Regions from separate parts of the Homo sapiens genome. Here all the other regions are linked to region 1. The links are contacts of gene promoters, found by promoter capture Hi-C in blood cells and fetal thymus (Javierre and others, 2016). All regions are on one chromosome and are shown on one strand. Each heading gives the region's core, a stretch centred on a gene start or on the middle of the fragment in contact. The rest is flanking DNA. Distances are from core to core; before and after follow the strand shown.

What was found. Contacts are between HindIII fragments. The CHiCAGO score rates a contact against its expected background, and 5 or more counts as called.
Region 2: a fragment that was not itself captured here is called in contact with the fragment with the promoter of MORC4 in region 1 in 4 of 17 cell types (total B cells, naive CD4 T cells, naive CD8 T cells and 1 more); the score reaches 6.6 in total B cells.
Region 3: a fragment that was not itself captured here is called in contact with the fragment with the promoter of MORC4 in region 1 in 1 of 17 cell types (naive B cells); the score reaches 5.7 in naive B cells.
Region 4: a fragment that was not itself captured here is called in contact with the fragment with the promoter of MORC4 in region 1 in 1 of 17 cell types (total B cells); the score reaches 6.4 in total B cells.
Region 5: a fragment that was not itself captured here is called in contact with the fragment with the promoter of MORC4 in region 1 in 1 of 17 cell types (naive CD4 T cells); the score reaches 5.1 in naive CD4 T cells.
Region 6: a contact is called between a fragment that was not itself captured here and the fragment with the promoter of MORC4 in region 1, in 2 of 17 cell types (activated CD4 T cells and total B cells). The highest score is 7.5, in activated CD4 T cells.
Region 7: a contact is called between a fragment that was not itself captured here and the fragment with the promoter of MORC4 in region 1, in 1 of 17 cell types (total B cells). The highest score is 5.7, in total B cells.

What each region holds. Positions count from the first base shown.
Region 1 is chrX:106,998,648-107,001,631 of GRCh38, forward strand. MORC4 (MORC family CW-type zinc finger 4) reads right to left here and starts at 1,565. Exons shown (of 17, transcript NM_024657.5): 1 at 1,221-1,565; 2 at 1,030-1,102. The coding sequence starts at 1,322. RefSeq lists silencers at 1,330-1,539, 1,550-1,629. The HindIII fragment of the contact is 4,977 bases long and covers 1-2,984 here.
Region 2 is chrX:107,768,857-107,771,840 of GRCh38, forward strand. All of the region lies in intron 1 of TSC22D3 (TSC22 domain family member 3), which reads right to left. Among named protein-coding and RNA genes, the nearest start is that of TSC22D3, 5.4 kb to the right of the region's middle. The HindIII fragment of the contact is 542 bases long and covers 1,179-1,720 here.
Region 3 is chrX:107,752,728-107,755,711 of GRCh38, forward strand. The region is part of intron 1 of TSC22D3 (TSC22 domain family member 3); the gene reads right to left. Among named protein-coding and RNA genes, the nearest start is that of TSC22D3, 22 kb to the right of the region's middle. The HindIII fragment of the contact is 830 bases long and covers 1,108-1,937 here.
Region 4 is chrX:107,735,772-107,738,755 of GRCh38, forward strand. All of the region lies in intron 1 of TSC22D3 (TSC22 domain family member 3), which reads right to left. Among named protein-coding and RNA genes, the nearest start is that of TSC22D3, 39 kb to the right of the region's middle. RefSeq lists an enhancer at 1,022-1,599. The HindIII fragment of the contact is 7,191 bases long and covers 1-2,984 here.
Region 5 is chrX:107,670,169-107,673,152 of GRCh38, forward strand. No RefSeq gene overlaps it. Among named protein-coding and RNA genes, the nearest start is that of PRPS1, 43 kb to the left of the region's middle. RefSeq lists a silencer at 2,970-2,984. The HindIII fragment of the contact is 4,714 bases long and covers 1-2,984 here.
Region 6 is chrX:107,652,151-107,655,134 of GRCh38, forward strand. No RefSeq gene overlaps it. Among named protein-coding and RNA genes, the nearest start is that of PRPS1, 25 kb to the left of the region's middle. RefSeq lists an enhancer at 2,969-2,984. The HindIII fragment of the contact is 612 bases long and covers 1,165-1,776 here.
Region 7 is chrX:107,619,085-107,622,068 of GRCh38, forward strand. No RefSeq gene overlaps it. Among named protein-coding and RNA genes, the nearest start is that of PRPS1, 7.9 kb to the right of the region's middle. The HindIII fragment of the contact is 345 bases long and covers 1,220-1,564 here.

The DNA of each region.
Region 1 (2,984 bases), core at 315-2,814:
GTTCCAAACGTATCAATTCCACTTTTTGCCTTTCACCTTCTAATTAAATTACACATATTGTAAAGCATTCCGTGTTATGGTTAATCATCAAAGGTCTCTATCATTCTTATCACCCTTCCAAGTAAGTCCCCTGCTACCCATTGACTTCTTACCCAAGATAACTCTCATGGCATGGCCACAGCGACTGCTTAAGTAGAGACCGGGGTTCATTTGGGGAGCTTTGAAAACATTTTCAAGAGTTTGTTCTGTGCAACCTTGCCCATAAACACTTCTTCCTTCTTTCGATTTTCAAAGCATGTATAATGCGCCCTGTATGCTGCTGCGTTTTGTGCAGGACTGCGTTTCTTCTTTGCTTTCCACACAGTAGCACACTACTGCAAAAACTGGTGTAATTGGCTTGAAGGGATCAACTGAAAACACTTTAAAAGCAAACACCGGTGGAGCGAGAGGTTAAGTCCTCAATATTCATTCCAGCGGTGTGAGGGCGCTCGTGGACCACGGACCCAGCCCTCCGCAGTAGCAGGGAGCCAAATGCACTCGTGTCATCTCTTAAGAGATGTCCCATCATTCCTAACTTTTCTTGTCTCAAAAGTTAAGGAACTCCGCTTTCCAGACCTTTCCCCAGGACCCGCCTCGGTCCTCTACGCCCCTTTGCTAGCTAGGCATCCTCCGTCGGTCGCCAGCCCCTGCGGACCCAGCTGCCTCAGGGCCCGAGGTTTTTATGCATCTCCTTTTGATTACTAACTAAGCTATCCTAAAGTGCCCGAACGTCACGAGCGCGAGAGAAAAACCACACTGGTGTCTTTAACGCTTCAGACACACCTCGTTTCCTCCGTTTTATGAGCGGAACCTAGTTCCTGGCGAGAGAGCCATCCCCCTCCTCCGCCTGCGGAGCCGGGGCCGGTTCCGAGGCCCCCACCCCAGCCCCGGCCCGCCCCGCGCGGCTCTGCGCATTCCTCTCGCGTCCGCGGCACCACGCTGGCACCACTGCCTCGGGCGAACACGGCCGGGCCCGCCCTCGCCACTCACCTAGCAGCTCCGCGATGGCACTGAAGGGTCGCGTGTGGCTGCTGGAGTTGCTCTGGAGGTAGCGGGGGCTCATCTGGGGGCGAGAGAAGGTCCCGACCCGCGTGAGGCCTCGGCCCGCCGGGCCCTCCCCGCGCGCCCCCCGCAGCCCAGGGGCCCGCGCGCGCGTCCGCCCCCTCGGGCCCCGGACCTACCGTGCTCAGGCGGATCCCGAAGGCCTGCGGGCCGCCGCCGGGCCGGGCCAGCCCGCAGCCCGGCGCGCCAGGGCCGGCGGGGGCCCCTCGGTACAGGAGCATTTTTTTGGCCGCCACGGTACCCGTCTGCTGCCGCCGGACCCCTGGCCCGGCGGTCCGGGACTAGCCCTCGCTCACTTCCACTCGCAGCTGGCGGCGACCGTCCGGGACCGGCCCTCCCTCGCTCCCACTCGCAGCTGGCGGAGGCGGAGCGCGCTCCAGCCACCTGTCCCGGGCGGGAGGGGTGAGGCCGGCTGAGGCAAGCGGCGGCTCCGCCCTGTCAGCACCTCTACCGACCCGGCGACTGCCCGGGCTGCCTCTGGGCCGTACAGAAATATGGCGACCTCCTGACAGCCGCTCCTTGATCCCCGCCCCTAATTAATTATTGGCGTATGCCATAGGCCAGGCCGCCGAGCGGGAAAGCGCGGGGGGCGGGGGTGGCGCGTGGGGAGGGGCGTGAATGAAGCAAGAGGAGGGAGAGCATGTATGGGATTTCTGGAACCTAGTCCCGCTTAGGCTGCATGACTAACAGGCAAGATAAGACAAGTCTTTCAAGTTCTAAAGACTACAGTGTTGCTATCTGGGAAGATAGCAAGCTCGCCTGATGGGAAAACATTCTACCTACTCTGCCTCAAATGCCTCCAGAAGCACCCAGAACTTTCTGGAAGGCAATTAGCAAACTATCTCCAAAGTCTTGCTAGCATGCAGGGACGGTGTTTCTAAAAGGAGAAATTGGATTCACTTAAATACCGCCAAGTAGGGGATTGGTCGAGTTATGAAGTATGCATAAAATGAAATACCATCCAGTTCTTGAAGGCCATGTTTGTAGATAAGTATGTGTTGATGTAGAAAAATATTCATGAAGGAATGAAGAAAACAAGGAGTTACAACATATTGTGGAACGCATGATGCCTTTTCTATTGGAAAAACAAATATATATGTATACATATATACATATATATATATGCATGCATACACACATATACACATACATACATACATATATATATACACACACACACACACAACGAAAACCACTTGATATACACCAAGATGATATCTCTGGGTCTGGAACTAGACACTTTTTCCTTTTTTCTTACCTGTGTTTTCTAATATACTATAAATATACACTGATAATAGAAAAACAGATTCATTAAAAACATATGTAATGTTCTATGGCATGAATGAACTATAATTTATTTGACCATTCCTTTATGGTAATTTAGGTTGTCCTCTTTTTTTAATTTTGACAATACAAAAAATGCTCCTTCACACACTCGTGTACAGGTCATTAATTTCTGATACTGTTATCTCCACAGAATGAATTCCAAAAGATGAGACTGCTGCATCTAATAGCATGTGCATGGTTTAATCTTAATAAATACTGTAAGATAGGCAATTTGCCCTCCCAGCAACAATCAGTGCTCTTTTGTCATGTTCATAGCACTAGATGGTCCCAATCTTTTAACTTTTTGATAGTCTTTTCAATAAAAAATAGTATCTCCTTATTGTTTTAATTTGCATTTTCCTGACTACCAGTAAGGCTGAATATCTTTTCAAATGTTTAGTATACATTTGCATCTCCTCTTCTACAAATGCCTGTTTATGTCCTTTGAGCATCATTTTTTACCCCCATTGGGTGCTTTACATTTGTCTGTTTTTTAGTTATCTTTTCTTCAATTTTTTAAAATACACAAAAGTACAGAAAACAATATAATGAATCCC
Region 2 (2,984 bases), core at 200-2,699, 770 kb after region 1:
CTAAAACTTTTGCCAGTCTCCAACTCATGGATGCAATCTCCAAAGCATGTCATTTCCCCCATAAAAAGTCCATTCCCAGGCAGCACCATCACTTTGCCAAACTTTGTAGCTTTCTCTTCGTTGTAATCACTAGCACCAGCAGCTGGCTTAGAGAGGGAGCATTCTCCTCAAGGAATGCCCTGAGACATTTGCTCATTTTATGACAGGTTCCTACGTATGTGTTGACTACGAGCAGTAGACCACAAAATTGTGTTGAAAAGTAGGTGCTGGGCAATGCCACTCCTAGGTATATACCCCAAAGAATTAAAAGCAGGGACTTGAACAGATACTTGTACACCAGTGTTCATAGCAGCATTCTTCATAATAGCCAAAAGAGGGCAACAACCTAAGTGTCCACTGACAGATGAATGGATAAGCAAAAGAGGTATATCCATACAATGGAATTTTATTCAGCCATAAAAAGAATGAAGTACTGATATGTGCTACAACATGGATGAACTTTAAAACATGTTGAGTGAAAGAAATCAGACACAAAATATTGTATGATTCAATTTATATGAAATATCTAAATAGGCAAATCCATAGAGACAGAAAGTAGAATAGAGGTTACCAGGGGGTAGTGGGAGGGGAAAATAGGGAAACGGTGAGTTATTCTTTAATGGGTACAGAGTTTTTGTTTGGGATGATGACAAAATTTTGGGAATGATAATGGTTGCACAACATTGTTAATATACCTAATGCTACTGAATCGTACACTTAGAAATGGTTAAAATGGCAAATTTTATATCTATTTTACCACTATATATATATATGTACTATGTACAATATATGCATATAATACATCTCTCTCTTTCTCTTTCACACACACACACACACACACACACACACACTAGTAGATGTGGGGTAGGGCACCAGGCTCACTCATTGGTGAAAGGACCGGCCCCCACCTACTAGTCTCCTTGCACATGTGATTCACATCTGTGCCTCAGCAAAAACACAGTTTCTTACCAGTCTGAGTTCTCATGAAGTATCCAAACCATGAATGTTAAGTTTGCAAATGCATTTGTGCTTTTAATGGAGAAGGTCCCTTAATCCAAGAATGCCTATTCTTTGTCAGACCACTAGGCACTCAGGAAATAGTTATTTTAAATTACTTTGGGCTATGAAAGGACTTTTGAAGCTTGATACCAAAAGCAAAAATCACAAAGGCAAAGAATGACAGGCTTAACCACACAGAAACCCAAAACCGCTCTACAGCGAGTAACTCCATCCTCAAAATCAAATGGTAAATTAGTTGACAATGCGTTGCAATCTCTAATACAGGGTTTCTCACAGTGTGGTCTACATACCAGCGGTGCTCTGGGAGAGGAATTTTAGATGGTACATGGACAGAGAACTGAATCTTAAATAGTATGAACTTAGGCACTGCAGCAGGCAGCCACTCAAATCATGCCGTGTGAGTGGCCACCACCTCAGAAGCCAGGTCCAGGAATATACATTATGAAATTACTTGTTCTGAGACTCACTTAGAGAAGCACAAATAATTTTTTGCACAAATTTTTCTTGAAAACCTGATCTCTGAATCTATATCCTTCCCCTTTGTTACTATATTAATAGGGGATATTAAATGAATTAGCACACATAAAGCAATTAGAAATGTTTGCTATTTTTATCATTTTCTGAGCATTTATATATGGGAACCAGTTGGGGCCAGGTCAGAAGCTTAAAGGTAGAATCCTAGGGTTTTTAGAGCTGGAAGGGAAATCGGATTCAGAGTATTTCAGACCACACTAGCCAGGTACGCTCTGGGGTCAAAGGTAGAATAGAGCTGATTAAGAGGTTTTGGGTAAAATCTTAGAAAAAAATTTGAGGTTACAGCAACAGCAATCACAACGAATACTGTCAAAGCTCCTGTTACAGGTTGTTATACCTTACAGGTCAGAAAAATTAAGGAAGGCTCTTCAAATGTCAACTTGGGAAGCTTTTTCATATGCTACATTTAAATTGGAAACTTCTGCTGTTTGCCCAGAATATTCTATCTCCCTCCTAAGTTTTCCAGTATTAGAAGCATATTCAAATGACAAGGGGGAAGTCCCCTAACAACAGGGTGACCAACCATCCCAGTTTCCCTAGGACTGTTCCAGTTTGAGCACAGGCAGTCCTATGTCACAGGACTGGGATGGTTGGTTTCCCTACCTAATAAGGACATTTTGACCATTTGGAAAGGTTCTGAGCTCACATTTACCTCTGCTTCATAGACAATTCTTAAGTGTTACAAGAATTTCTTTAGCATTAGTTTAGTTACTGAGTGTTCTTAACAATTCTTTCTTCATAGACAATTCAGGCTCTGCTCTTCATTGTGAGGCATTGGGCAAGATACTTAATTTTTTCCAAGCCTCAATTTCCTTCTTTATAAAATGAAAATGGATGATAATAGTACCCATTTGGTCGGGCGCAGTGGCTCATGCCTGTAATCCCAGCACCTTGGGAGGCCGAGGCTGGTGGATCATTTGAGATCAGGAGATCGAGACCAGCCTGACTAATATGGTGAAACCCCATCTCTACGAAAAATACAAAAATTAGCCGAGTGTGGTGGCGTGCGCCTGTAGTCCCAGCTACTGAGGAGGCTGAGACAGGGGAATTGCTTGAACCCAGGAGGTGGAGACTGCAGTGAGCTGAGATCGTGCCACTGCACTCCAGCCTGGGCGACAGAACAAGACTCCGTCTCAAAATAAATAAATAAATAAACAAATAAATAAATAAATCCATTCCAAAGAGTTGATGTAAATATTAAATTAGATTATGCAGGTACATTGTGAATGTTCAAGAAGTGTTAGTTATTAATCTGTTATGGTTATTAGTTACATAATACAAGATTGAAAGGATGGTGTTTAAAATACACTTCTTCCCCAACCCAATTGTTTACAGGTACCATTTACATACCAACAGGCTGCATGCCCATTCTCACTGATTCGTATGTATAT
Region 3 (2,984 bases), core at 273-2,772, 750 kb after region 1:
TCACTGCTGCCCAGTTTAGATTCCCCACGGACACCACTGGAGCCTAATGAGGTTGCCAAGGGAGCTGGTCCGGCAGCCTTGCAGAGGAGAAGGGGCAGGAAGAAAAGACTCTGTCCCAGGCTCAGCAAGAGATCCCATAGCCAAGATACGCACAGCAGGCCAGAATGTAAAAATCAATTCACAAAGACAGCAAGAATTAAGTCTAGACAGAACCCAACTGAGTGAATTTGTTGGTCTCTGTGGGCTGCAGGAACCAGAGAAGCCCCATCCACTCAGGTTGCCACTAGCTTCAGCCATGGTGACATGGCATCAGCTGCAAGCCTACTGTGGCTGGCTCAAGGGCCTGGGACTTGTCCCCTGGGCCTCTAAATGCCAGGCCAGGAGCAGTACAAGCCTCTCCTATCCTTCCCTTTACCTACTGCTTGGCCACTGACAGGGTGCACCTGGCTAGCTCAGCTCTGTTTTCTTAAGTGCTTGCTGAGCCAGAGAGGAGAGAGGAGGGAGGATGGACTCAGGGAAGGGAGGAAGGGCCAGGATGCTGGCCTCCTGAGGTAGCATAGATTCCCCATGAATACACTGCTGACTATGATAGGTAGCAGTGCTGCCTCTTCCAATTCTAGCACTTCTGGGAGTCATTTCTCAGCTCACACTTCCCTCCTGTGACAGATACATAAATCCTTGGCTGAAGAGGCTGCCGTGCCCCTTCCTGTTTCAGATGTGATTTTCCTCAGATGAATTGCGCCACCACTTTCAGACTCACATGGGTCAGACGATCAGACCAGGCATTGTGATACAGCCATCAGGTTATAGTTAGGAAGAAGAAGGGAACTATCGATTTCCTGGTAACTCCTTGGATCTGTCTCCCCAAGTCAAACTAGGTACCATTACGCAGACCCCTTAGGTCTTCATGGACAAATCCACAGCATCCACAACCATATGACATATTTCAAAGACACACAGAAATGACTTCAGTATGCTTGAAAATCAACTCCCAAGTATTTCTAGGTGGCTTTTCCATTTTGTGAAATAGCAGTGGCAATGCTTGGTCTCAGCTTAGCTTCTCCCTACATCCAGTTTCTTCTAGTTTCTGTATACTCCAGGGGTGCAAGCTTATTTTCATATCAGCCCAAATAATTAAGAAGGCAGATCTACTGAAAAAAGTTAGACCCATGGTGCAATTTCTTTCTTCCTTTTTTTTTTTTTTTTAAGACGGAGTCTTACTCTGTTGCCCAGGCTGGAGTGCAGTAGTGAGATCTTGGCTCACTGCAACCTCCGCCTCCCAGGTTCAAGTGATTCTCCTGTCTCAGCCTCCCGAGTAGCTGGGATTACAGAAGCGTGCCACCACGCCTAGCTAATTTTTTTTTGTATTTTTAGTAGAGACGGGGATTTCACTATGTTGGCCATGCTGGTCTCGAACTCTTGACCTCATGATCTTCCCACCTCGGCCTCTCAAATGCTGGGATTACAAGCGTGAGCCACCGCGCCTGGCCTATCATGGTGCAATTTCAAAGCTAGCTAGACATGATGTTTCTCCTACATTATCTCTTATTTTGGATTATCCATGCCACATGTCCTATGTTACCCTAGCCATGTGAAACTCAGCCATACTTGGATTTGGAATCCATTTGTGAGTGGGTAATTTATTTTTGAAAAAACTTTCTTTATGCACTACTTGGGCTGGTATCAAAGTGATCCTGCACCCCAGAGTTCCCAGAAACTAGCTAGAAGGTCGGTGGGGGGCAGCCTGGAATTTTGTGATTGCTATAGATAATCCACAAAATGGATAATGAATATAGGAATAATCAAAACTCTACCCAGATACAAGAATGGGGCTATGTGGGTAGGCAGCTAAGAGCAGAGGCTGCAATGAGTTGCTAGCACACAATTTAGTATCATTAAGGAACAAGCATGACCCTGGATGCTCTAAATAGGAAAGAAGCTTGTAGGAACTATGAAGTCGTCTTCCTTCTCTATTCCATGGTCATTGGCCACTAATGAAATCTTACACAGCTACAGTTTCCTGTAAAACAGCTAGCTTGGGGGTTAGGGCAGGTGATTGCGTCCTCTGCAGTTCAGTTAACCCATTTATGACAGAGATTGCAAATTTTTTTTCGTGAAAAATCAGACCTTGGCGATAACCTTGAGCAGTAGGATATAAATAACTCCCACAAGCTTAGCGTTCCAATAATGGAACACCAGGCCTAAATGGGTTAATTTTGCTCCTTTCCTAACCTGCTATCTTGCAAATGTGTGTCACTGATCAGAGGATGGATTTGGGTGACTGGCTAAGGGCAAAGGTTTTCATGCCACAATCTCAGCTGTTACAGAGGACAGAATGAAATCTCTGGTGGATAACTTGGACATTATCTAAAAGATGGAGAAATGAAAGTTCAAACTTTTTTCTTTAAAAAAATGGATTTAGCTAATTTGGAAAGTAAGACCGACAAGGGATGGGATAACTACAATTTAAGCATATTAAATTTATTAAGCATAGGAAAGCTGGAGGACAGAATTAGGAGGAATAATGTCAGAGAGCAGAAGTTGTTAAACACTGGAATGTATGAACAAAGGACTTTGTGGTATTTCCTTTCTTGGAGGTGTTTGAAGATCAACTGTCTCTGCTTGAGGCTTTTGCTAAAAACTGTTCAAGGGACTGGCCAACATAGGAAAGACACACAAGGCTCCTGAGGTGTAACCCAGACAGAAGGCAGGAGACCAGACCCAGAACCTTCATCGTCTTTCTGCTTCTCTCCAGGGCTTGCCTTCGTGAAATCCACAAGGTGAGCCCTAGGAGGAAGCAGGACTAATAATCATGTTTTGTATCACAGGGAATGGAAAGAAGTGGACCAAACATATTTACACGCAGCCTATCATAAACTCCTGGTAGAAGTGGGAACTCTCTTGTATAGTCTGATTTCGTACACATTTCCCACCAAATCTTATCCGAATCTGTCAGGAAATCAGAGCAAGTCCATGTGAAATTG
Region 4 (2,984 bases), core at 268-2,767, 740 kb after region 1:
CTGACATAAGTAGCTGACCCATACCAACGAGTTGGCTTCTTCCCTGAATGCACAATTCTCCCCTTTAGCTTACTTGGCATCCTCTGGCTTCTTTTTGTTGTGTTTTGTTTTTTTACATATTCAAAGAGATGAAAGGAACTCTGAAGATGAACTAGTTCAATTCCCTGCTTTTTTGGGGTGAGGAAACTGAAATTTGGGTAGAGCCAATGACTTGCCCAAGGTCACACAGACAGGTAGGGACAGAGCCAATACTCTAACCAGGCCTGTGTAATTCCAGAGCCTCTGCTCTTTTACTCTGCTCCCTTGCCCTTTAGGCCTTGGCTCGCCAGCCACCATCACCATCCCCTTCTCCAAGTGTACCTCTTTTCCATGACACACCTCTGAGCACTGATTCTGTTCTCTAATTGTTTGCTATGTGTGTATCTAGTTTTCCCAACAACAAAGCAGCCTGAGTGGTAAGGGGCTAACTCATTCCTCTCACTTGAATGAGGTACAGAGGAGGGAAGTGACCTGCCTAAGGTCACACAGCTCATTAGTGATAGAATTGGGAACAGGATCTTGGTCTCCAAGCCTCCACTTGGGGCCACTCCCACTACACCACAATGCAGCACACCTCTCTTTCTCTCCCCATTTTCCCCTTCTGTGCTGTCGTGGAATTTTACAATCTTGTCCCTTTCTCTCTTCTTTATATTCTTCTCCTCATTCCTAACGTCTGCATTTTTCTTAACAAGCCTGCTGGATTTTAGAACTGGAAGGGACCTCTACCTATCACTTAACAGACGAGAAAACTGAGACCAGGAGAGGGAAAACAGAGTGCCTGAAATCACACAGCTAATTAGTGGCACACCTGGGATGCAAGGCCAAGTCACCAGCTCCTAGTTCAGAGCTCTTCCAACCATCGTCTTTCGGTCTGTGCTCGATTTTTATGGCCGTTCTTGCTTGAAAAGCCCCCTTCCAGGCATGACCAGATCCAGCAAGATCTGAGAGTGCTTGGGCCCAGGGTCACACAATGTCCCTGGGGAAAAGTAGAAGGAGCTGAGAGGCCTGGAACCACCCACATCCTCTCACATCCCACCCCGGGAAGCCCAATTTGGCCTTGCTGAGGGCGGTGACTATCAAGTATGTGTTGAGATAAAGTCATAGCCTCTCCAATTCTCAGTTCATGGCCTAGAGAGTGGCGTCAAAGCCCAAATGGGCTGCAAAACGAGGTCAGTTAACTGTCCTCTCAATGGAAAAATCTTGGAAAATCAATAGCACTTATAACGTCAACAGACCCAGAGACCTTTCCTTTGTTTGTTTTTTCCTCCTGGGCCGGTCTCTCTCACCCACCCTGCTGTGAAGGCACAGACAACACAGGAATCCAGCAAGGGAAGTTGCAAAGGCCAGACCACGGCTCCCAGGGCCCCTGGACCAATGGGGGACAAGGGGCATGCTGAGGTATAAATGACTTGTGAAGATCCTGGCCAAGTCCCTCCTTATTCCCCCAGGCAATGTTATTCAGATTCAAGGCCCTCCCTGGCAACTGGCACCTGGTTGGAAATAACCAGGAGCTACTCAAAACTCCAGTAGAGATTCTGGAAGCTCAACCCTGTCCCAGCTTTGTCACACAGGGGTTTCGCTAAGTAAGAGAACAACCAGAAAGCCAATTAGACACCACCATGGGGTCTTCCTGCACTGGGAAGTGTCTGAGGCTCTCAGACTGGAGTGGATGTTGGCCCTTTTCCCAGACATCCTCCCCACTACACACCATGGGTATATTCTACCTTCCCTCCGTGCACAAAGAGGGTGGCTGCCTCCATGCTGCTTTTTTTCTTTTTTTTCAAACAGGCTTCTTCCTGCTCCCAAACTGGTCCTACTGCACAGCCTGTACTTTCTCCCATTAAATGAAGTCCTTCATATGAAAGTATTGTGAGTTGATTCCAACCTGGATTCATTTGACAAAAATTTATTGAGCCCCTACTTTGTGTCAGACACTGGTAGCTTTTCTCAACGTGTTTTGTGCTATCAAAGACCATTGCACCCCATGAGTTCCCATTGAGAAAACAGGGCCAGATCAATGGCAGATTTGTTGCTACCAGGCAGAGAAAGCTCAGCAAAGAGATGTGAATTTAGGTCCTGGGAATAAGTGTGTGCCATCGTGTGGGTCCCTGGACACTGGGATATTGATGCATGGGTGCCTGGGGTGGTGAGCTGAGAGATGCCCTTTCCATATGAACTCCTACGACCAGGAACAAACACTACATCCCAGATAAGTTGTCCTGGCTGGCTGCAAGGGGCAGAAGTGAGGACAATTCCAGGGCTTTCCATAGCTAAGAAACAACTGTGTCCTCTGGTCTTGGTCCTAGCAGCAGGGATCACTGCCTGTTGGCCTCCCAAGCAAGTCAAGGGACAGGCATTTTGGGAGAAGCAGCCCCGTCTTTTCTGATATGTCCCCTGGGCACCTGAGTTTGGTTCCCTTGCTGGTCAAGACACATCTAAAGCATTTAAAGGCAATTAGGTAGCTTTTCAGCGGAGAGTTTTCCTGGTTAAACACCCCATCCCTACCTCTTGAATGCATGAACAAAATTTTGCAGCTCATCTTCTCCTAGGCAAGGTCTTGGCCCTGTGCCTGCTCCCCCAACCCTGCCCTCTGGGTGATCTTGCTCAAGGACGCCAAGGGAGTTGGTGGTAGAGGCTGGGAGCACAGCCCAGGTTTCCTGGATCCTGGCCTGGCACTCTTGCCACCAGACCCCGCTGCCGCTCCCTCTCCTCTCTTGCCCTTTGTGCCCAGTCTGCACCTCCTGGAGGCACATGCCCCACACCCCACTAGTTTTCATGGGCGAGATGTTTCTATTCAACACCAGTTGGCAGTTCAGCCATATGGGGCATAGGGAGTCTGGCCTTCTGCTGCCCATGGGGCCAGACCTAGGTAAAGGGAGGGGGAGAACAGGCTACTCTGCTGGTCTGGGACCAGCAGAGCTGAGTCCTTAAGGCAGTAATTTTTA
Region 5 (2,984 bases), core at 347-2,846, 670 kb after region 1:
GAAAGAAATACACTGAGCCTGGCTTCTTCTTTCCCACCCTGAAAGATATAAACAATGTATCCCTTCTGAACTTAGCAAGTTCCTGAAGGGAAAGACAGGCTTCTCAAAGCCAGCTGGTGTTGGCAGCCTTCTTGAACCATATTTGGCCTGAGTGGGAGCACAACAGGACCTCCAGGTAATGAGCACACGATCACTACAATGTGTGGAGCTGCAGAGTGAAGAAAACAAACATTGTATTCTTTATATTGTTTACACTAACTTCATAAAAGCATTTCACACAGGTGGAGGGGCAATGACCCAAGAAGACTATCAACAGGGAGAAGGGGGGTAGTGGGGAGGGAAGTCTGCAAATTCATCAGCAATCCTCCCTGAAAAACATGCTGAGGTGGCTCCCACTATCTACCTCATGTTTTTTGTCAAAGAAGCAGCAAGGGAAAGAGGACTTAACAAATAACAGCTGCCATTTATTTAGGCTATTAATTTTTTGAGACAAGGTCTTGCTCTGTCACCCAGGCTAGAGTGCAGTGGCGCGATCTGGGCTCACTGCAGCCTCCGCCTCCTGGGTTCAAGTGATTCTCCTGCCTCAGCCACCCGAGTAGCTGGGATTACAGGTGCGCAGCACCACGCCCGGCTAATTTTTGTATTTTTAGTAGAGACAGGGTTTCACCATGTTGGCCAGGCTGGTCTTGAACTCCTGACCTCAAGTGATCCACCTGCCTCGGCCTCCCAAAGTGCTGGGATTACAGGAATGAGCCACTGTGCCTGTGTCTGGCTATTTAGCCGTTACTATGTACCAGGTACTGCATTGATGGCTTTGTGTATATCAGTTAATTCCTAATAACCACTTGAGATAAATATTATTATTATCCCCATTTTACAGATGGAGACACAGGCATGGCAAGGTCAAGTAGCTTGCCTGGTGTTAGACAAGGCAGCATTCAAACCCTTGCAGTCTGGCTCCAGAGCCCCTGCCCTTAACTGCTGTACCACACTGTCTCCCAGTTTTTTGTTTGTTTGTTTTTTGAGATGGAGTCTTGCTCTGTCATCCAGGCTGGAGTGCAGTGGCATGATCTTGGCTCACTGCAGCCTCTGCCTCCCACGTTCCAGTGATTCTCCTGCCTCAGCCTCCCAGGTAGCTGTGATTATAGGCACACGCCACCACGCCCAGCTAATTTTTGTATATTTAGTAGAGATGGAGTTTCACCATGTTGGCCAGGCTGGTCTCAAACTCCTGACTTCAGGTGATCAGCTCGCCTCGGCCTCCCAAAGTGCTAGGATTACAGGCGTGAGCCACAGCGCCCGGCCCTGTCTCCCACTTTTAAAAGTCCATTGCGGCTGTGGTCCTGGCTCTTGGGGAGCTGACAAGAGGGCAACCAGAGACTGACATGGTCTTCAAGGGGAGGGAATGTGACCATAAGTACACTGGGTAGAAAAATAGAACAGGAAGCCCAGAGAGGCTCACCAGTCACCAGTCACCACTCAGTTGGTGCTGGGACTCATTGGTGACGGGGTCGGGGGGTAGGGTGGGGTGAAAGAAGGTGCTTTTCCAAGAGGTGCTGTTGTGTGCACAGAGACAAAGCAGAGCTGGGGCAGAAAGCTGGGAAGGCAACTTTCTTCTGAGGGGGGCCAGACCACTAGGCTGCCTCGGGAATGGGCAAACGGCCCCAACAGCCACTCCTAGGTATATACCCCAAAGAATTGAAAGCAGAGGCTCGGACAGATACTTGTACACCAATGTGTTTACAGCAGCATTCTTCACAATAGTCCAAAGGTAGAAACAACCCTTAAGTGTCTATCAATGGATGAATGGATAAACAAAATGTGGTATATCCATACAGTAGACAATTACTCAGCCTTAAAAGGAAAGAAACTCTGGCACATGCTACAACATGAAGATTATGCTAACTGAATAAGCCAGACACAAAAGGACAAATATTGCATGATTCTGCTTATATTAGGGACCTAGAATAGTCAAATTCATAAGAGACAGAACATAGAATGGTGATTACTAGGGGCTAGGGGGAGGGGAGAATGGGTATATTCTCTACCCTCACTCTGGGGGCGGGTTTGTGGGGGGGATTATTGTTTAATGGGTATGGAGTTTTGCAACATGAAAAGAGTTCTGGAGGTGGAGAGTGGTAATTGTTGCAGAATAATGTAAATGTACTTATTGTCACTGAATTATGCACTTAAAAATGATTCAAATGGCAAAAATTTTTAGGCTGGGCGCGGTGGCTCACGCCTGTTATCCCAGCACTTTGGGAGGCTGAGGGGGGCGGATCATGAGGTCAGGAGATCAAGACCATCCTGGCTAACACGGTGAAACCCCGTCTCTACTAAAAATACAAAAAAAAAAAAAAAATTAGCTGGGCGTGGTGGCGGGTGCCTGTAGTCCCAGCTAGTTGGGAGGCTGAGGCAGGAGAATGGCATGAACCTGGGAGGGGGAGCTTGCAGTGAGCTGAAGTCGTGCCACTGCACTCCAGCCTGGGCAACAGAGTGAGACTCTGTCTCAAAAAAAAAAAAAAAAAAAAAAAAAGCTAGGCATGGTGGCATGCGCCTGTAGTCCCAGCTGCTTGGGAGGCTGAGGCAGGCAGGAGAATCACTTGAACCCAGGAGGTGGAGGTTGCAGTGAGCCAAGATCGTGCCACTGCACTGCAGCCTGGTGACAGAAAGAGACTCCATCTCAAAAAAAAAAAAAAGAGATTCAAATGGTAAAAAATTTTAAAACACCACGAAAACAAAAACAAAACAGCCCGTGCAGCAGCCTGGTCCACTGAGCTTGCAGCCCAGACATTGGTGGTGGGTTTTGAGGTCTAAAAATAGGGCCTCCTATGGCAAAAATTGGTCACCTGGACAGGAACAGCAGTGAGAGCTTATTGCCTGAAGAGGGGGCAAGAGAGCTCTGGGACGGTGAGTTTCCTCACCTACCCCATCTCCCTTTCCCCCCTCCCTCCGTGTGTGCGTGCGTGCGTGCGTGCGTGTGT
Region 6 (2,984 bases), core at 221-2,720, 650 kb after region 1:
GGTTTTGCCATGTTGCTCAGTCTGGTCTCAAACTCCTGGCCTCAAGTGATCCGCCCACCTTGGCCTCACAGAGTGCTCGGATTACAGGCATGAGCCACCATGGCGGCCTTAAGTGAGTGAGTTTCTTGGCCCATCATCAAATAAGGGTGCTCTTTTACTTTGGGAAGCTACATGGCTACAGAGCTTCATGAAGAGTGCTTCCTTATTTGTGAAGCCCAGGTCTACTTTTGTTTATTTTGTTTTTGCTTTTGTTGGATATCGGGATATCTATTTTACAGCTAGCTCTTTGATAAAAGTGATTCAGGAGGGACTAAAGTATACTATGAAATGTGCGCCTCTAACCCTCTAGACCTCTTTAATCTCAGATTTTTGCTCTGGGAGAAGCTGATGTGAAGCACCAATGCCTTCACTTGCTCATCATGCTATTTCCTAAAGTATTGGATCAGTGGGTCAGGTCTCATTGTTACAGAATATTTTGACATTAAGATCTCTCTTGTGGGCCCCTTTGGGTAATTCATTTCCTAGGATGAGGTTTTGAGATTATTCAAAAAAGGCCCAGTCCCCAACTTTGATCCCTTTCAAAGCAGTTGTTTTTTGTTTTTGTTGTTTTTGTTTTTTGAGACAGAGCATCGCTCTGTTGCTCAGGCTGGAGTGCAGTGGCACGATCTCGGCTTACTGCAACCTCCGCCTCCCGGATTCATGTGATTTTCCTGCCTCAGCCTCCCAAGTAGCTGGCTAATTTTTGTATTTTTAGTAGAGATGGTGTTTTACCATGTTGTCCAGGCTGGTCTCGGACTCTCGACCTCAGGTGATCCACCCGCCTCAGCCTCCCAAAGTGCTGGGATTACAGGCATGAGCCACGGTGCCTAGCCTCAAAGCAGTTCTTGACTGTGGGGAATAGTAGCAGGAGCAGACCTGCCAGGGCATGAGGAGGAGGCAGCACCAAAGCTAAGTGGAGTTGCAGCGAGCACAGTTGACAAGAAACTCTAGTTGTGATAGCTACATGATTGCCCTTGAACACCTGTCTGAAGAATGGAGGTACAGACTAAAGCAGGGGTAGGAGGCTGGCTCTGTTTCCTGACCTAATGTAATGGCTGCTTTTCACACACAGAATGTGTTTACTCAACATCTCTATGAGTGGTGGTCCCCAGGGCAGTAATGCAAAGCTTCCTCCCCTCAGCCTCACTTCAAGTTTTTTGTAAGGTAGGTGCCTCCAATAACCAGATTCCCTTTAAGAGGCCTCTTTGTTCTCCCCCACAACTGAGAACTAGTAAGGATGAGATGGCAGGAGGGCATGGCAATAGGAAAATGATGCTTTTCTGGGATTTCAGGCTTTTTATGATTTTAATGCCTTCAGGTTGTTAAGGGCTACATGCGATTAGTATACAAGTTAACACTTTCAGCAGAAAACACTTGGTATCCAAATCTGGAAAGAAGACCAGGACTAGCAGCCCCAACTTAGATGAAAAAAATCTTTTATAGAGGCACCAACTTACAGAGTTGCTGAGCTTCTTCTCTGGTCCTGAGAATGCAGGGAGGTGAGGGGGTATGACATAGAATGGATGCTGCTGTTTGAAACAAGTGGCTTCTGTCTTGGCAGTGGTGGTTTAAAAAGCAAGAGTGCTACAGCCAGAGATTCCCCCTCTGCTTTGCCTCCACTGTGTTTGGAGACTTGTTTTTCTCTTGCAGATTTTTTTTTTTTTTTTTTTTTTTTTACCACTCTGAGACTCCTTGTTTAAGAATAAAGCAAATTGTGCTCCAAATTATGGCAGATAAAGCTTGATACTCTGTAAAATCTTGGCTCGAGCATTTCTTTTTGTGTTTATAACATTTACTTGACTCTTTACAACTCTTCAACTGCTATTTGTTGCTATAAAGTTTTAAAGTTTGGGTTTAAGACAGAGTCTCACTTTAGCCCAGGCTGGAGTGCAGTGGTGCAACCTCGGCTCGCTGCAACCTCCGCCTCCCAGGTTCAAGTGATTCTCGTGCCTCAGCCTTCTAAGAAGCTGGGATTACAGGTGCCCGCCGCCACACCTGGCTAATTTTTGTATTTTTAGTAGAGATGGGGATTCACCATGTTGGTCAGGCTCGTCTTGAACTCCTGACCTCAAGTGATCCACCTGCCTCAGCCTCCCAAAGTGCTGGGATTACAGGCGTGAGCCACCGTGCCCGTCCTATAAAGTTATTTTTTAAAATAAGTGTTCAGTTCTAGGAGCCAGGAAATAAATAAATAAAATAGTGTGTGGGTGCGGTGGCTCACACCTGTAATCCCAGCACTTTGGGAGGCTGAGGCAGGAATGAGCCTGAGACTCAGAAACCTGCCCATGTGGGTGTGGCTCCTCCTTCCCTAGTCCTCACTGCTCATGGGCTACTGTATGCCCACTCCTTGGTCTACTGTCCCCCCACCCCGTGCCCTAAGGAAAACCAGAGACTCTCCACTGACAGTCAGACTTCTCTCCCCATCCTTCCCCTTTCCTGAGCTTTTCTTCCCCAATATATTCATTCCTCCAATAGCTCAGCTGCCAACTATAAAAAATAAGGGGAAGCTCATTTTGAAGCAAAAATAGCTGAAACTGTACAGGGTGACAATAGGCCTTATTCCCTCAGCCCCATTGTGTTTTTTGTTGTTGTTTTCTGACTGGCTCAAGATTTTATCTTCTTAGCCAAGTCCCCACCCCTCCCCCCTCTGGCGTGTCCACTAACTGCTGCGGCTGGGTTCTTGTTGCTTCACCCATAGAGTTGCCATGAGCTCACTCATGGTGTGGCTCTGATTCAGGGTTTGAATATAAAACAAAACAGGCCAGCCAGGTCTGACCAATCCATTCCTCCTGGGTAATATGCTGAGCAGAGATTTTCCCGCTTGTAAGCAGCCTGGAGCCACACAGCCCAATTTTAGTCATCGCCCTCAAAGTTCTTGGGGTAGAGCCTCTAATGATAACAATGGGCGGGGACTTTGTGGTGTGGGAGGGGCTGCAGTGAGGCAG
Region 7 (2,984 bases), core at 142-2,641, 620 kb after region 1:
GGCGTGAGCCACCGTGCCCGGCCGTCTTTTCTTTTTCTTTCTTTCTTTTTTTCTTTCTTTTTTTTTGAGACGGAGTTTAGCTCTTGTTGCCTAGGCTGGAGTGCAGTGGCACAATCTCAGCTCACTACAACCTCCACCTCCTGGGTTCAAGGAATTCTACTGCCTCAGCCTCCCAAGTAGCTGAGATTACAGGCATGCACCACCACACCCGGCTAATTCTGGTTTTTTTTTTTTTTTTTTTTTTTTTTTTAGTAGAGACGGGGTTTCACCATGTTGGCAAGGCTGGTCTCGAACTCCTAACCTTAGGTGATCCACCTGCCTCGGCCTCCCAAAGTGCCAGGATTACAGGCATGAGCCACCATGCCTGGCTGAGGACATTTTTTTTTCCTAAAGTATTTTAATTCAAATCTCCTCAAAGAGATTTAAATTAAATCTCTTGCCCGGCGAGGTGGCTCATGTCTGTAATCCCAGCACTTTGGGAGGCTGAGGCGGGTGGATCACTTGAGGTCAGGAGTTTGAGACCAGCCTGACCAACATGGCGAAACCCTGTCTCTACTAAAACTACAAAAAATTAGCCGGGCATGGTGATGGGTGCCTGTAATTTCAGCTACTCAGGAGACTGAGACAGGAGAATCGCTTGAACCTGGGAGGTGGACTGAGGTTGCAGTGAGCCGAGATTGCACCACTACACTCCAGCCTGGGTGACAAGAGCCAGACTCTGTCTCAACTAACTAACTAACTAAATAAATAAATAAAAATAAAAAATTAAATCTCTCAAAGAGTAATTCCTTGCCCACATACCCTGATTGTGCTTATCTTTCTAGAGAGAAATAAGGAGCAAAGATAACATTCTTTCCACACACGTTTACATTCTACAGTTAGCAAATCAGATTACAGCACTTAGTTTTTGCCGTAATGGAATGTTTAGTTCCCAACCCGCCCCACTGCCCAGACAGAGTCTTGCTCTGTCACGCAGGCTGGAGTGCAGTGATGCAATCTCAGCTCACTGGAACCTCTGCCTCCTGGATTCAAGCAATTTTTCTCCTCGGCCTCCCAAGTAGCTAGGATTACAGGTGCATGCCACCATGCCCGGCTGTTGGCCAGGCTGCTCTTGAACTTATGACCTTGTGATCCGCCCACCTTGGCCTCCCAAAGTGCTGGCAGTACAGGAGTGAGCCACTGCATCCAGCCTGTGTTTAGTTTTAAACTAATGAGTCCAAGCTTCTATGATAATTTACAGGCATACCTTGGAGATATTGTGGGCTCAGTTCCAAACCACCACAGTAAATCAAACATTGCAATAAAGCAAATCACATGAATTTTTTTGATTTCCCAGTGCATATAGAAATTACGTTTACACTATACTGTAGTCTGTTAAGTCTGCAATAGCGTTATGTCTAAAATAACAAGTACGTGCCTATATTAGGCTGTTTTTTTGCATTACTATAAAGAAATACCCGAGTCTCGGTAATTTATAAAGAAAAAGAGATTTAATTGGCTCACAGCTCTGCAGGCTTTATAGGAAGTGTGGTGCTGGCATCTGCTCCTGGTGAGGACCTCAGGAAGCTTCCAATCATGGCAGAAGGTGACAGGGAGCCAGCATGTCACATGGCAAGAGCAGAAGCAAGGGAACAAAGGGGAAAAGTGCCACACTCTAAAACAACCAGATCTCCCATGAACTCAGAATAAAGAACTCAATCACTATTGCAAGTACAGCACTAAGCCATTCACGAGGGATCTACCCCAGTGACCCAAACATCTCTCACCAGAACAATTTCCAACTGGGGATTACATTTTAACATGTGATTTTGAGGAAACACATATCCAAACCATATCAATACCTGAATTAAAAAATACTTTATGGTAGGCTGGGCATGGTGGCTCATGCCTGTAATCCTAGCATTTTGGGAAGCCAAGGTGGGCAGATCACTTAAGGCCAGGAATTTGAGACCAGCCTGGTCAACATGGCAAAACCCTGTCTCTACTAAAAATACAAAAATGAGCCGATAGTGGTGGTGCGCACCTGTAATCCCAGCCACCCAAGTGGCTAAGGCATGACAATCGCTTGAACCCGGGAGGCGGAAGTTGCAGTGAGCCAAGATCATGCCACTGCACTCCAGCCTGGGTGACAGAGTGAGACTCTGTCTCAAAAAAAAAAAAAAAAAAAAAGCCAAAACCAAAAACAAACAAACAAAAAAATTTTATTGCTAAAAAATGCTAATGATCATCTAAGCCTTTAGCAAGTAGTAATCTTTTTGCTGGTGGAGGATCTTGCCTCAACACTGAGGGCTGCTGACTGATTAGGTGGCAGCTGCTAAAGGGTGGGTTGGCTATAAAAATTTTCTAAAAAATACAACAATTAAATTTGCCACATTGATTGACTTCCTTTCACAAAAGATTTATCTGTAGCATAAAATGCTGTTTGATAACATTTTAGCCACAGCAGAACTTCTTTCTTTTTTTTTTTTTTTTTTTTTGAGACGGAATATCGCTGTGTCGCCCAGGCTGGAGTGCAGTGGCCCAATCTTAGCTCACTGCGACTTCCACCTCCTGGGTTCATGCCATTCTCCTGCCTCAGCCTCCTGAGTAGCTGGGACTACAGGCATCCACCACCATGCCCGGCTAATTTTTTGTATTTTTAGTAGAGACGGGGTTTCACCGTGTTAGCCAGGATGGTCTCGATCTCCTGACCTCATGATCTGCCCGCCTCGGCCTCCCAAAGTGCTGGGATTACAGGCGTGAGCCACGGCGCCCGGCCGAACTTCTTTCAAAGTTGGACGCAATCCTCTTAAACCCTGCCACTGTTTATATAATGTTCTAAATCTTTTGTTGTCATTTCAACAATGCCTACAGCATCTTCACCAGAAGTAGATTCCACTTCAAGAAACCACTTTGTTTGCTCATCCATAAGCAAAGGAAAAAAAAAGAGAGAGAGAGAGATGACTGCTCATCCATTCAAATTTTATCATGGGATTGCAGCAATT